2 separate regions of the Homo sapiens genome follow, and region 1 is linked to region 2. Evidence: promoter capture Hi-C in human tissues and cell types (Jung and others, 2019). All regions are on one chromosome and are shown on one strand. The core of a region is centred on a gene start or on the middle of the fragment in contact, and the rest is flanking DNA. Distances in the headings are between cores, read along the strand shown.

Region 1 (6,540 bases), core at 3,903-6,402, 150 kb after region 2:
AGTGTCTGGCAAATAATTGGTACACAGCAAAATTTGTTAAATGAATACATTTTGATACTTTTAGTTACTAAGTAAACATTTTTTCCTTTAGTGTTTTAATTTCATAATACTTTGTGAGCTAATTGTTCTTAGCCTCAAAATCTTTTTAGAAAGAGGCTGTGTATAACTAAATGAATTGAATTGATTGTACTTCCTTTAATGAGTGATCTAGTTCAAGTTCTTTGACTTGATATGCTTTTACTTTCTTTTGAAATTCAGGATAACAGTAGTTTGCAAATGTTTGAGTATGAGGACCGCCTTTTAAACTGATGTCTACATAATAATTGTACTTTTTGTATCTGTGGGTGGAAAAACTGCATAGTGACAAGAAGCCTTTATATTTTAGTTTCACCATAGTGTCTTCAGAAATTTGCAAAATCGAGGTGCATAATATATGAGACATACACTTATTTATTCTGTGGTCTGTGCACGGTAGCTATATGATAATTCATGAGCCCATGGCAGTCGTTCTAGAAGCCACCAGGGGTTTGGGACCACTAAGTTAGGAACTACTTAATATTCGTATCAGAACTGAGGAGGACTACTGAGTTGTAAATAATAGCTAGTATAGGAGATTATACCTACTTATGTGTTTTTAAAATTCAGTTTCCGAAGCTATCAGTTTCTTTTAAAGACTGAAGAATATTTGAAAAATCAAGTTTAGAAGTGCCTTTTAAAATTTACTTATTTGACATTATTTGTTTTAGCAAAAAACCAGAAGCAAACTAAATGTCTAATAATGTTCAATTATATTTTGGGCATATTTGTCTGGTGGAAAGTTAGGCAGCAGTTGAGTATTAGAAATTGTAATTCTGACCGGATGTGGTAGCTCACGCCTGTAATCCCAGCACTTTGGGAGGCCAAGGTCGGAGGATTGCTTGAACTCAGGAGATCCAGACCAACCTGGGCAACATGGCAAAACCCCGTGTCTACCAAAAATACAAAAATTAGCCAGGTGCGGATGTGCACGCTTGTGGTCCCAGCTACCTGGGAGGTCGAGCATCGCTGGAGCCTGGGAAGTTGAGGCTGCAGTGAACTGTGATCGCACCACTGCACTCCAGCCTGGGAGAAAGAGCAAAACCCTGTCTCAAAAGAAAAGAAATTTTAAAAGAAGAAATTATAATTCTTAGAATCTAACAATTTAAAAAGCAGAGTATACCATCACGTATTCCTAAACATTTAAACTGTGATTATATGAAGTGTTTCTGTACATGGTGAAAGACAGGAAAGTAGTAGTGCTTGTATTCAGATAGAGGAATTCTGGGTAATTTTTCCTCTTTTTGGAATACTTATTTAGCAGTTGCTGTTGCCAGACACCAATAAGCTCTTTTTATGATTTAATTTAGGGGTCATTAAACTACAATGCATTTGACTTGCCGGGCCTATTTTTGTATGACCCACTTGAGCTAAATAGTTTTTGTACTTTTATTTTTTTAATTTGACCAACATAGTGCCTTTAACCTAGTATATTCAAAATATTTCAACATGTAGTTAATATTAGAAATACATCAATAAAATATTTTACATTTTTTATATGAACTCTTTGAAATCTGATGTGGATTTTACACTTACGACACATCTCAATGTTGTCACATTTTTACATTTTTAAAGAGTTGCTTTAAAAAAAAGAAGAAACAGATGTGACAGAGACCTTACATGGCCTGCAAAGCCTAAAATAGTTACCACTTGGCACTTTGCAGACAGTTTACTGACCCCTGATTTAATTCATTTTATCCTGACAACATTCCAATAAGAAGGGGTGCTATTATTATCATTTCCATGTTAGAGATGAGGAAGCTGAGGCACAAAGGGTTTAAGTCAATTGGCAGCATTCGCTATGTTTTAGATCAAATTGTAGGGTCTTTCTACAAACCTGCTAATCCTGTGTTTCTTTGCAGTGTAAAAAGTGGATAGTGGCTCACGTGTCAAAGGATGGCACGGTCACGATCTAGATCCCCCAGGTGGAAACACAGGTGAGCAGTTCTTAGCAGAGTAAGCTTGGATTTGGGATGTGCTGTGACTTTCAATTTCACCAGTACTAGTAAACACTTAAGCTCATGGGACCTGGTTATTCACAGTAGGTACTTTATCATAGTGGAGGTTGTATTTCTACATTCTAGTAGCTGACAGCTTTGTTTAATCATAGCAGGTGGCTAGAGTTAAATAATGAAAAGCAGTGCAGTGGCCACAGCAAGAGAGAGTGAGAAATATCTTTGAGAGTATTACATTTTTTGAATTAGTGAGCAGTTTAGAACTCCTCAGTATGGATTTCATTTTATTTTTTCATAATTAATATGTTTAAAGAAATTTCGAGTTAGAAAATAGGGAGTTTCCTCTTTCTTCTTCATGGCAGAATAATAGAGTTTTGAATAGTTCGATTATAGTCCATTTCTCCTTCCTTCTTGGTAGTATCAAAATTATGTATCATTAGATTGGAACAATTTAACCAGTCTTTATTGTACACCTGCTACAGGCAGGTTCTTGGGCTACAAAGGCAAATATGCCATCTTCTTTGGCCTCAGCAAGCACGTGGTTGGGCTGGGAGATTGACACCATGGCCAACTATGATACAGTGGGGAAAATGCTGTGCTACTTATTGGGACAAAGGATTCTGGATTTCTAGGGAGGAAATAATTCTGTTTTTGTGGAGGAAAAAGAGGGTACTAAGAAAGTCTTCAAAGAAGAGATGAAAACAATTTTATCTGGGCGTTTCAGGATGTGTAGAACTTCTAAAGGCAGAAAGAGTGAAGAGAAATATTCTAGTTAAGGGGGAGAGCAGGAGCAAAGGCACCGAGCTGTAAATGTGACTAGTATTTTCTAGGACTTAAAAAGGACCATCATTTCACACAAAAAAGGCAGACCAAGATTTTTCATGTTAAGATAACTTGCCCATTTTGCTTGTGCATTTCAGTTATGCAGTAACTAATCAATCATTTTGTCAACAGTTTTCATTTTGTAATTCACAGGAGCCACTTGCAATGGCAAGGAACTTGAGAAAGAAAAGGGAATGTATAGAAGTGAATGATTTTAACAGGGTATCACAGAGGTCATTTATTTTTATTTTTTTTATTTTTATTTTGTTTTGAGATGGAATCTCGCTCTGTCGCCCAGGCTGGAGTGCAATGGCGTGATCTCAGCTCACTGCAAGCTCCGTCTCCCGGGTTCACGCCATTCTCCTGCCTCAGCCTCCTGAGTAGCTGGGACTACAGGTGCCCGCCACCACGCCCGGCTAATTTTTTGTATTTTTAGTAGAGACAGGGTTTCACTCTGTTAGCCAGGATGGTCTCCATCTCCTGTCCTCGTGATCCGCCCGCCTCGGCCTCCCAAAGTGCTGGGATTACAGGCGTGAGCCACTGCGCCCGGCCCACAGAGGTCATTTCTTGATAAGACAAAAGGCGCTGATGAGGGGCACAAGAGACCCTGCCAAGCTTAGTGCCTGAGTTCCAGGTTCCTTCTCAGGTTTCTTTGTTAAGAACTATAAAGGATCTGATATTTTACCTTACTTGCAAACTAACACATTATTAGCCTGCCACAGGGCACTCTTGGGTCAGAGACAAAGGCCTTTATTACTCAGAATACAGCAAGCAGCTTGAGCTTCATGTTCCTGTCATTCCCCCCACCCTCTGGGTCCCGTGAGGGCTGGGACTGCAGAGCCACTGACTGGATGGATGCCGTGAGGCAGCGAGCTTTCCATACAGGCAGTGGGGTTATAGTACAACTGAGGAACATGAGTCCCTTATCAGGGGCTGCAGATAAACCCATCATGCAGCCTTTGCCTTGGAGGAGACATTTATTTTATTATCCTGGACAGCAAACACATCAGCCCTTTTCCCTGAGTGAGACCCTATCTCTATCTTGCAACACTGCCTTAGAACAAAGGTTGTCAGTGCCTCTGCTCACAGGGCGCTCGCAAGGCGTGCAGAACTCAAGAGACTGTGGAGAATTATCTCCCAACAGACTCCTTGAGTCTTTTTTGTTCCTTTAGGAAAACCAAAAACAATAGCAACTGTTCCAGCAAACTTCTTCGGAAGAAAGGGACACTGTGCTATGAAACATATAAAATAGCATATCAAACCGATATTGAATGTGAAGTAAGGATTAAAAGTAAGTTATTGGGAATTCCATCCAGACTGCAAGACCTTTGACTCTGGCTGCCAGCTTTTCTCCTTGGCTGTGAAAGAGATGAAATCTTCCAGGAAGTCCTCAGAGGCTCCACTTGCTTCCTCCTGTGATGAGGTGTAGCCAGCTGGATGGCAGAGTTTCTGCTTTAGCTAAATAACACTTGCCAGTATGTCTAGCTTGGTGACTCCAGAGGGCAATATTGCCAAGTTCAGTATATAACTCCTAGTAGGTACATGAGGAAGGTAGATCTGCCTCCTTTCTTGTAGGGAGGGCACAGACTTATCATCGAAAGGAAAGGGTTTCACTCATGGTTGCGCCAACTCCATGGCAGCTTCTAAGAGAGAGCCATAACAGAAGCTGCAAGGATCGCTTCCTCATTGATTAGAAGACATTAAACCCTCAGGGAGGAGATGGAGAAATTGGGCAGCTCAGATGGTGGAAAGGTCCCCAGGTGCAAAATGGAACTTTATTGTGTCCCAGATAGTGGCACACCTCTCTTTACGTCTAGGCAACCCAGACTGGTTTCCCTGGATACAGAAGCCTTCCGCCTTAGTGGAAACACAAGCCTCAATGTTGGCAATGCTGAGGTATGGAGAAGGTAGTTCCATAAAGGATGTGCTGTCCCTGGAGAGCATTGTAGCTGCTTTAAAGTATAACTTCACCGAAGTTACAAGCTCTGTTCGAACAGCACATCTTTCCATAGATATGCAAAGGAACAGATCTGGGAAAGAAAAGCAACTTACCTATGTTAGAGGTATTTCTGGAGGAACTAAGCATGAGATTCAAGTCTTAAGAGCCTCTTGTTCCCCCTTTTCCCCCGGTTAAGTACATATGTTTTGTTCCTTGATACAGCCTTAGTAGAGAAAGTAGACAATCAGCTGGAGAAACTCTGGGCCTGGCTTGGGTCTGAGTTTGAATTGTAGCATCATTAAATCTTAGACTCTAATTTATTGTCAGAGGTAATGTTCAGTTTGCTGGAGACCCTCCTACACATTGATTTGTGTGAGTCTTGCCTTCCTGCTTGTTTCTTACCTGGCCTTTGAACTGGATGTAAGCTTTTGTTGACTGGCCCTTTGAAGTCACTGCATCTTCTTTTGCCAGAACTTTGCTGTCAGCAGTCTTCCAAAATGGATCCTGCTGTGCACCTAAGCTGGCCCTCCTCCAATGGGACAGGTGTGCTCAGCTCATTTGGATAAGCACGTGGAATACCTTAGTTCAGATGGAAAGAGTATGCTTGTTGGTTGGGCAGTACCATAATCAGACCCCCAGATGTACAATTTAGAATGCAGATGTAGCAAATTGATGAATTTAGTTTGAGTGGAAGAAGCCGAGGGATCCTAGGAAAAGCAACTGTTTTTGGTAGGTCATATTGAGACACGCTTAGTTGATTAAATGGTTTACACTTTTCTGTGTTTGTTTACATAGGTCTTTATCACCAGTACCTAGAAATGCTGAACACTACAAGCAAAGACATTCACACGGGCATTATGGCTGTGAATATAGGAAGGATCCAAAAAGACCCGTCGCGTGGAGAATGGACAGTGAGAAACATGGACAGAGTAAACCAAGGATTCCCTCTCGTGGAAATATATATTACCAGTCTTATGAACATAGATCACCTTCCCCTAACATAAGAAACTCTTTAGAAAATGTTTATATGTATAAGCCTCACAGAGGATATTCGCCTGGAAGAGGGGACAGTAACAGGAGAGCTCAGTATATGCCCAAATACTCAGAGGGTATACCCTACAAAGAGCATGAAAGGAATTCTTATCCCCAGAAAGTGCAAGGAGGGCATAGTCCTGATGACCACAGAGTTAGAGGAAGTGGAAAAGGAGGGAAACCACCTCAGAGGTCAATAGCAGATTCTTTTAGATTTGAAGGAAAGTGGCATGAAGATGAGTTGAGGCACCAGAGGATACAAGAAGAAAAATACTCCCAGTCAACTAGAAGAGGCTCTGAAGACTTTGAGACAAGGAGCTCATTTCAGAAGAGGTATAGGAAAACATTAAACCTGGGTAATTTGGTATAAAGCCTCAAGTGAAAAGATCTGTTTACTTTATGGTTGAAGATAACCACCTTGAAAAGCTTTTGTCTAAAAAGACAAAAAGCATTGTAATTTAATTATGGGGTACTGGTAGTAGTGAAGTATTTCTTTTTAGAGTAAATCATGTTGATGGCTAGAATACTTTTAAAAGATGGTATTTTCCTCTTTAACTGCCTTGTGCCTATAGAATTGGCTTAAAGGGTTATAGATTAACTTGCCACTGCATTCTGCATTTAAAGCCATGCTGCCCGACATTCTACACATATAAATTCTCCCTTTCTTCTCTCTATTGCAAGTGTAAACTGCTTTATGTCAACACAGGTATCCTGAGG
Region 2 (6,632 bases), core at 3,034-5,533:
TTGTCAGAGACACTAACTTTTTTTTTGAGATGGAGTCTCCGTTGCCCAGGCTGGAGTGCAATAGTGCAATCTCAGCTCACTGACCTCTGCCTCCCGGGTTCAAGCGATTCTCATGTCTCAGCTTCCCAAGTAGCTGGGATTACAGGCATGCGCCACCACACCTGGCCAATTTTTATATTTTTAGTATGGTTTCACCATGTTGGCTAGGCCGGTCTGGAACTCCTGACCTCAAGTGATCTACTCGCCTCCACCTCCCAAAGTGTTGGGATTACAGATGTAAGCTACTGCACTCAGCCATTTATTTATTCATTCATTTATTTATTTATTTAGAGACAGGATCTTGCTCTGTTGCCCAGGGTGAGTGCAGTGACGCCATATCACAGCTCACTACAGCATCAACCTCCCTGGCTCAAGTGATCCTCCTACCTCAGCCTCCCAAGTAGTGGGGACTACAGGTGCACCACCAAGCCCGAATGTTTTGTTTTTATTTTTTAGAGATGGGGGTCCCACAGTTTTGTCCAGGCTGGTCTCTAACACCTGGATGCAAGTGCTTCTCCCACCTTGGCTTCCCAAAGTGCTGATATTACAGGTGTAAGACACTATGCCCGGCCAAAAACCTCTTTTTTGAGACAGGGTTTTGCTCTTGTTGCCCAGGCTGGGGTGCAATGGCGCGATCTTGGCTCACCGCAACCTCGGCCTCCTGGGTTCAAGTGATTCTCCTGCCTCAGCCTCCTGAGTAGCTGTGATTACAGGCATGCGCCAGCACACCCGGCTAATTTTGTATCTTTAGTAGAGATGGGGTTTCCCCATATTGGTCAGGCTGGTCTCAACTCCCGACCACAGGTGATCTGGCCGCCTCAGCCTCTCAAAGTGCTGGGACTACAGGGGTGAGCCACTGCGCCCGGCCATGCTATAGATTTTTATAGGAAGTTAGTGTAGTGGGAAAAGCACGGAAAACTCGAAAGTCATTTTTTTTAAAAGCTTAAATAGAAATTACACTATTGGATATTCTGTCATAATGTCGAAAATGTCAATTTTCTCCAAATTAACCTCTGACTTCAATATAATTACATTTAGTATTACAGCAGGCCTTGGTGGGAGATTGCAAAAACATCCTAAAATATATTCATGTGGAAATACTGAATTTCAAAGAATTCTAGAAACACTGCTAAGAGGGAATTCAACAAATAAATTGCACCCTAAGCCATAGTAGTGAATAATAGATGCAGTAACAGGAAGATCAGAATAGATAGCTCAGAAGCTATCTCACCTACTATGGAAATTAGGTACTTGATTTTTTAAAAAGTGGCTTCAAAAATTACTGGGGAAAGGATAGGTAAGCAGGTAGTGCTGACCAAACTACACTTCGGAGAGAAAAGTGGATTTGGCTCTTTACCTCACCCTATACAGAAAAATTGCTTAAGAGTAAAGCATTTTTTACTTTTTTTTTTTTTTTTTTTTTTTTTTACGTTTTTTACTATAAGCATGAGGGCAATGGGGAGTATCTTGGGACTAGGGAAGTTCGTATTAAGACTTCTTAAAATGCAAACCATAAGGTGAAAAATTTATGGATTTTATCACTTCGTAATCATTATGAGATCAGATCAAGCAAGAACCATCAATGGATGCTAAATCTAGAGAGAATTTTTGACGAAGAGTAAGTACCTGCATAGCCTTAAGGTGCCTCACCACAGTGCATTTTGCAAGAGGAAAACTACCTCTAAGGTGGAGGAACAGCCAATGGAGAGAAAATTACTGTATCCATGTGAAACTTAAGTTGGTAGTCAACTCTAGTATGTGTAACAGAACATTCATAATCTTAGGAAATACACATGGAAGTATTTGTAATGTAACTTTCAAAAACAGTTGATAAAAAATAGGGCAATATTGTAAATGGAGTAAACATGTTAATAGGATTTTGTCATAAAAATTAAGGAAAATTTTACCAATCTTAAAAAGCTTAGTTGGCTAGGATAAAATATTTGCAACATTTAAACCAGAAATTATCTAGAATACAAGAAACTCCTGGAAATCAACCAGAGTAGCCCAGTGGAAAGGTGGGCAAGGATTGAACAGGGAATTTACAGAAGGGTAAACCAGATAGAATGGCTAATCATTTTGTGTAGATTGAGAACAATGCCAAGAGAGGAAAAACAAATAGAATGATAGCTTTTATGCAGTGTCATTTATATACAATTAAAATACATGCGTATCTTCAAAACAGTATTTCAAAATTGCAGCTGCAAAGATATCAGAGGAGGTGTTTATAATTAGGGAGAGGAATGGAAAGTAAAAGGACCCCAAAAATAGAATAAAAGTAGAGAGGGATGCTACACACACATGTCCATGAGCTCAAGAGTTGGATGAATTGAACTCACCAAAGGTCCCTAAGATAAGGGAGGAGAAAGTGACAGCTCCCACGCTCTTAATTTGGCTTAATCTCAATGTGTTCGAGTTTTCATTACAGCTCAGGGTACCAGCCCCCACCTGCTCACTTTCCTACTCATTTATGTTTAAACTTCCTGGCTTTCTCACCACACTTGAACCCTACTCCCGGCACACCTTTGGGCGTGTCAGGAACACGTTCATCACAAACATTTTTTGTGCCACAAAGGGACTTTCCCAGCTTTGGCCAAGAGTACAGGTGCCCATTCCTGAGAGTTTCAGCTTCACATTAAAAAAAAAAAAATGAGACATAATTAAGGGACCATAAAATTCACCCGCTTAAAATGTACAATTCAATAGTTTTTAGTATACTTAGTTGTGCACTCATCATAATCCTAGAATATTTTCATCCAAAAAAGAAAACCTGTACCCATTATTCAGCTTCATTTTTAATCGTGTATATCTCCCCCCAGGAGTGGTAATAAAACTTTCAGGCTGGTCACCTTCCAACGAGAAAAAACATGCAGCCTGGGGCTCCATGGGAACGGGTTATCACTTGGCAGGCCTGGGTAAACAAAAGGCTTGAGCCGGCCCTGCCAAGATGTCTTTTTCAATGTTTTTGAAAAGATAATAAATGTGCATGGCAGTGGTAAAAGTGCCTACTTAGGAGGCAACCCGTTTAGCAGTTTCTTGTGTGTCTTCTCGGAGAGATCCTCCTCAGAGGTTTTTTGTTTTATTTTGCTTTTGAGACAAGGTCTCTGTCGCCCAGGCTGGAGTGCAGTGGCGTGATCACTGCAGTCTCGACCTCCCGGGCTCAAGCGATCTTCCCGCCTCAGCCTCCCAAGTAGCTGGGACCACAGATGAGTCGCCATGCCCAGCTAATTTTTAAAATTTTTTTGTAGAGACGGGGGTCTCGAACTCCTTAGCTCAATCAATCCGCCCGCGTCAGCCTCCCGAAGTGTTGGGATTACAGGCGGGAGCCACCACACCCGGCATCGCGGAGGTTTCAGTCAGCATTATTTACGCCTCAGGAGAAGAGGAACCAAATTGGCTGCGGAGTAGGGTGTCGTTGAAAGGCCTAGGTCGGCCTACGGCGCGTGCCGCTGCCTCTTAGTTGAAGATCGACCCCAATAGCTTGCTGCTGTCCCTCTCTGGGTGACCGCACGCTGAGGGTGGGGCGTCACTAAACACTGATTACCCGTGCGCCTCGAAAACTGGAACCTAACTATGCATGGAGGGCGGGTCCTCTGGCGTCTGCACAGATGTCACTGGCCCAACTGGCACCCACCTGGGGGCCTAGCCAGAAATTGTTCCCAAGGCTGCATTGCTGAGTTTGCATGCAGACACCCAGTGAGTGTAAGCGTGTGCGTGCTGAGTGAGCACGTGTGTGCGCGTTATGTGCTCTGTGTTCACACATTGAGTGAGGATGTGTGTGCACGGTGTCTGAGAAACTGCACCCTACATCTACACACGCTTTGAGTGTGTATCTGCTACTGTGAGAAGATGCATTTACGCTGGGTGTGCACGTTGTGTGTGCATGTTGCATGTAAGCATCGTATGAAGAACTGTGTGCGTACGCACGCCTTCTGTGTGTGCACTGTGTACAGCAGCGTGTAAGGACGCGTGCACGCCCGTACGCGCTGTGTGAGGACTGTTGTGCACATTGCATGCACACGCTACAAGCGCGCGCCGCGTGAGAACCGGTGCGCCTATCGCACGTGCACGCCCTGCGTGCGCTGTGCGTGGAAGCGGTGCGCCTATCGCACGTGCACGCCTTGCGTGCGCTGTGCGTGGTAACCGGTGCGCTTATCGCACGTGCACGCCCTGCGCGCGTGCTGCGTGAGGACGCGTGCGCATGCGGACGCGCGCGGGTTCGGTGCGGCGCGGCGGGCTTGGCAGTGCGCCTGTGCGGCCGGCGCATCCCGATGGAGCGCGGCGGCGGCGGCTCCGGGACGGGATCCCGGCCTGAGGGGACTGCGCGGGGAACCTCTCTCCCAGGGAAGATCGCAGAACCGGGCGCGGTGCGGACCTCTCAGCCCAACTACCGGCCTCAAGGTATTATCCCCAGAGTGTGGCGGGCGCCCGAGGGCTTCGGGTTCCTGTGGGGGGGCGGGCCCGGCGGCCCAGGGCAAAGGTCCTCGAGCGTGGGGGGAAGGGGCACGGCGCAGAGCTGAGATAAACGCCCTTTCCCTGGCCCAGGATCGTCCGGACGTGCATCCAAGGGCCGCACCCCTCTCTGTGCGAGTGGCGGGGTTCTTTCTTGGGGCGACCTGGGTGAGTGGGTACACATGGGGGGTGGCTTAGGGTGGGCGGCAGGTGTGTTTGGGATGGAGGTGCCTGAGGGGGTGCTGCGGGTCCAGTCCCCGTCCTCGAGGAGCAGCCGGCATGGGGGTCGTTAGGATAAACCGAGCGGGGTTCTGGGGTTGCCCCGGCCTCCGCGCGCGCTCTCTCTGCGTTCTGGGAAACGCGCGCGAGCGCCGCTGCAGCCCGCGGCGAAGGTGGCCCAGCTTCGCGCCTCTTGGCGTTTCCAGGGGGCAAAATCGGCGTGTCACCCATTGGCAGAGGCAGATTCGCCCGGGCGGCCAGGCGTCTGCCCCGGACCGGGTGCTCCTCCCGCCCGGATGCGCTCCCTGTCTTGGGAACGCTGCTCAGGTGGCCGGGCCGCGGCCCTCAATCGAGGCAGCGGGGCAAACAAGGCTCTCAGCCCTCGAGGCTGCCGATGCTGGGAGCCATGGAGGGCTGGTCCCTGGCTGCCCAGAAGCCAGCGAGGCAGCGGAGGAGACTGTGAGGACATTTGGCAGGATTTTAGATAAGCAGGTCTGATGCTAACGTTCTGTAAAGTGGTTGCAGGTAGTGCGGGGGTGTAAGCAGCATGGAAACCGATTTCATGCTGTTTTTCCTGACAACAACTTTTTTATTTTTAGTTAATAAGGCAGGCTATTTTTAAAACATTTTTTATTGCAGTCTAATATGCATTTAAAAAACCACACAAAACTATAATTCGATGAATTATCACATAGTGAAGATGGGAGTATTTTATATACGATGGGCCAAGAAAAGGAAAGAAATCAAGAGAAATCTTCTTAAAACACGCTTTTTCACTGGGGTTGAGGGGGCGAGGTAGTATTTTCTGACTGGGCCTTCAGTTGCATCATTCTTAGGAGGAGGAGATAGCTTAAATCATTTCCAGTTTGTATTTTTCATTATGCTATTTTAAAGGCAGAATTCATTAACTGTCACAGGATAACGTTATAACTACCTTTGAAATGTGTGCTTTTGTTTTTATCCTTTTTGCTTGAAACACTCAAGCTGCATCTGCTAGGGAAGAACCTGGAAACTACCCACCAGAACGACCCTCCGTGGCAGAGGCGACCTTGTATAATAAAACACTGAAAAGGAGAGGTTGTTTCAGTTTGCATTTTTATTTGGTTGAGAGCTTAAATAATAGTTTGTTTCGATGTTCTGTTGTACTCATGAGAGGTGGGGAGGGGCGGTATGATTGGGTTTTCAGTGTATCTTGGATTTTATTTGAAGGAACTTAAGGGGTTTTTTTTTTTTTTTTTTTAATGGAAACAAAATTGGGGAAGGGGAGGAGGTACTTTTGCGGGGGAGATTCTTAATAAGTTCTGTTTGGAAACTATTGTAGAATCATTTAATGCACTCTTCTGATATTAAGATTAGCTTAAGGATATCTTCCTTCATTTGAAATTGGAAATATAGAAAAATATGTGTGAAGGTTTAAAATGTGAAATAAGCACCTATGTGCATTAAGGTTGGTATGGTAAAATTGGAATGTTTAATTTAGGTGCCAGGTGATACCACCATTTGTTGTTTGGGGGAGTTAGCAAGGCCAGGTACTTAAGTAAAGTCTCCTTAGAAAAATTATGATTTTGAGGTTTTATAATTATCTGTCCTGGATACTGATCATTCTTGGTTACCCAGGCCCTTAGCATTTGGGACCCATTCCTAATGAGACTTAACCTGCTTTTCTAGAGAGTCAACCATTGTTCCTAAGCTTGGGCTGGGTGCTGTCAAGGCTGCAAAATACAGAAAGACCTGAGATGTTTAGGCTGTCCAACAATTTTGTGTTGCACACTTAGGGGATATGAGTTGGCAAGTGGTTTTCCTGGGAGCTGTGTAAAAGACGGAAAGGAAATACCGCTGGTGGTTTCCTCTAGCAACAGGTTCTTCCGATATTGAAATCCTGTGCATGTTCCCATTACCCCCTAGTGATGCCTTCTTTCTTT

Evidence for each region. The method cuts DNA at HindIII sites, captures the fragments that hold promoters and counts their contacts. A contact is called where the count stands out against the background at its distance.
Region 1: a fragment that was not itself captured here is called in contact with the fragment with the promoter of MAP7D2 in region 2 in 2 of the 25 tissues and cell types used here (pancreas and thymus).

What each region holds. Positions count from the first base shown.
Region 1 is chrX:19,965,696-19,972,235 of GRCh38, reverse strand. It overlaps BCLAF3 (BCLAF1 and THRAP3 family member 3), which reads left to right. Exons shown (of 12, transcript NM_001367774.2): 2 at 1,938-2,012; 3 at 5,587-6,156; 4 at 6,530-6,540. The coding sequence starts at 1,972. Among named protein-coding and RNA genes, the nearest start is that of BCLAF3, 22 kb to the left of the region's middle. The HindIII fragment of the contact is 4,800 bases long and covers 2,753-6,540 here.
Region 2 is chrX:20,114,558-20,121,189 of GRCh38, reverse strand. MAP7D2 (MAP7 domain containing 2) reads left to right here and starts at 4,283. Exons shown (of 17, transcript NM_001168465.2): 1 at 4,283-4,440. The coding sequence starts at 4,311. The HindIII fragment of the contact is 9,946 bases long and covers 1,471-6,632 here.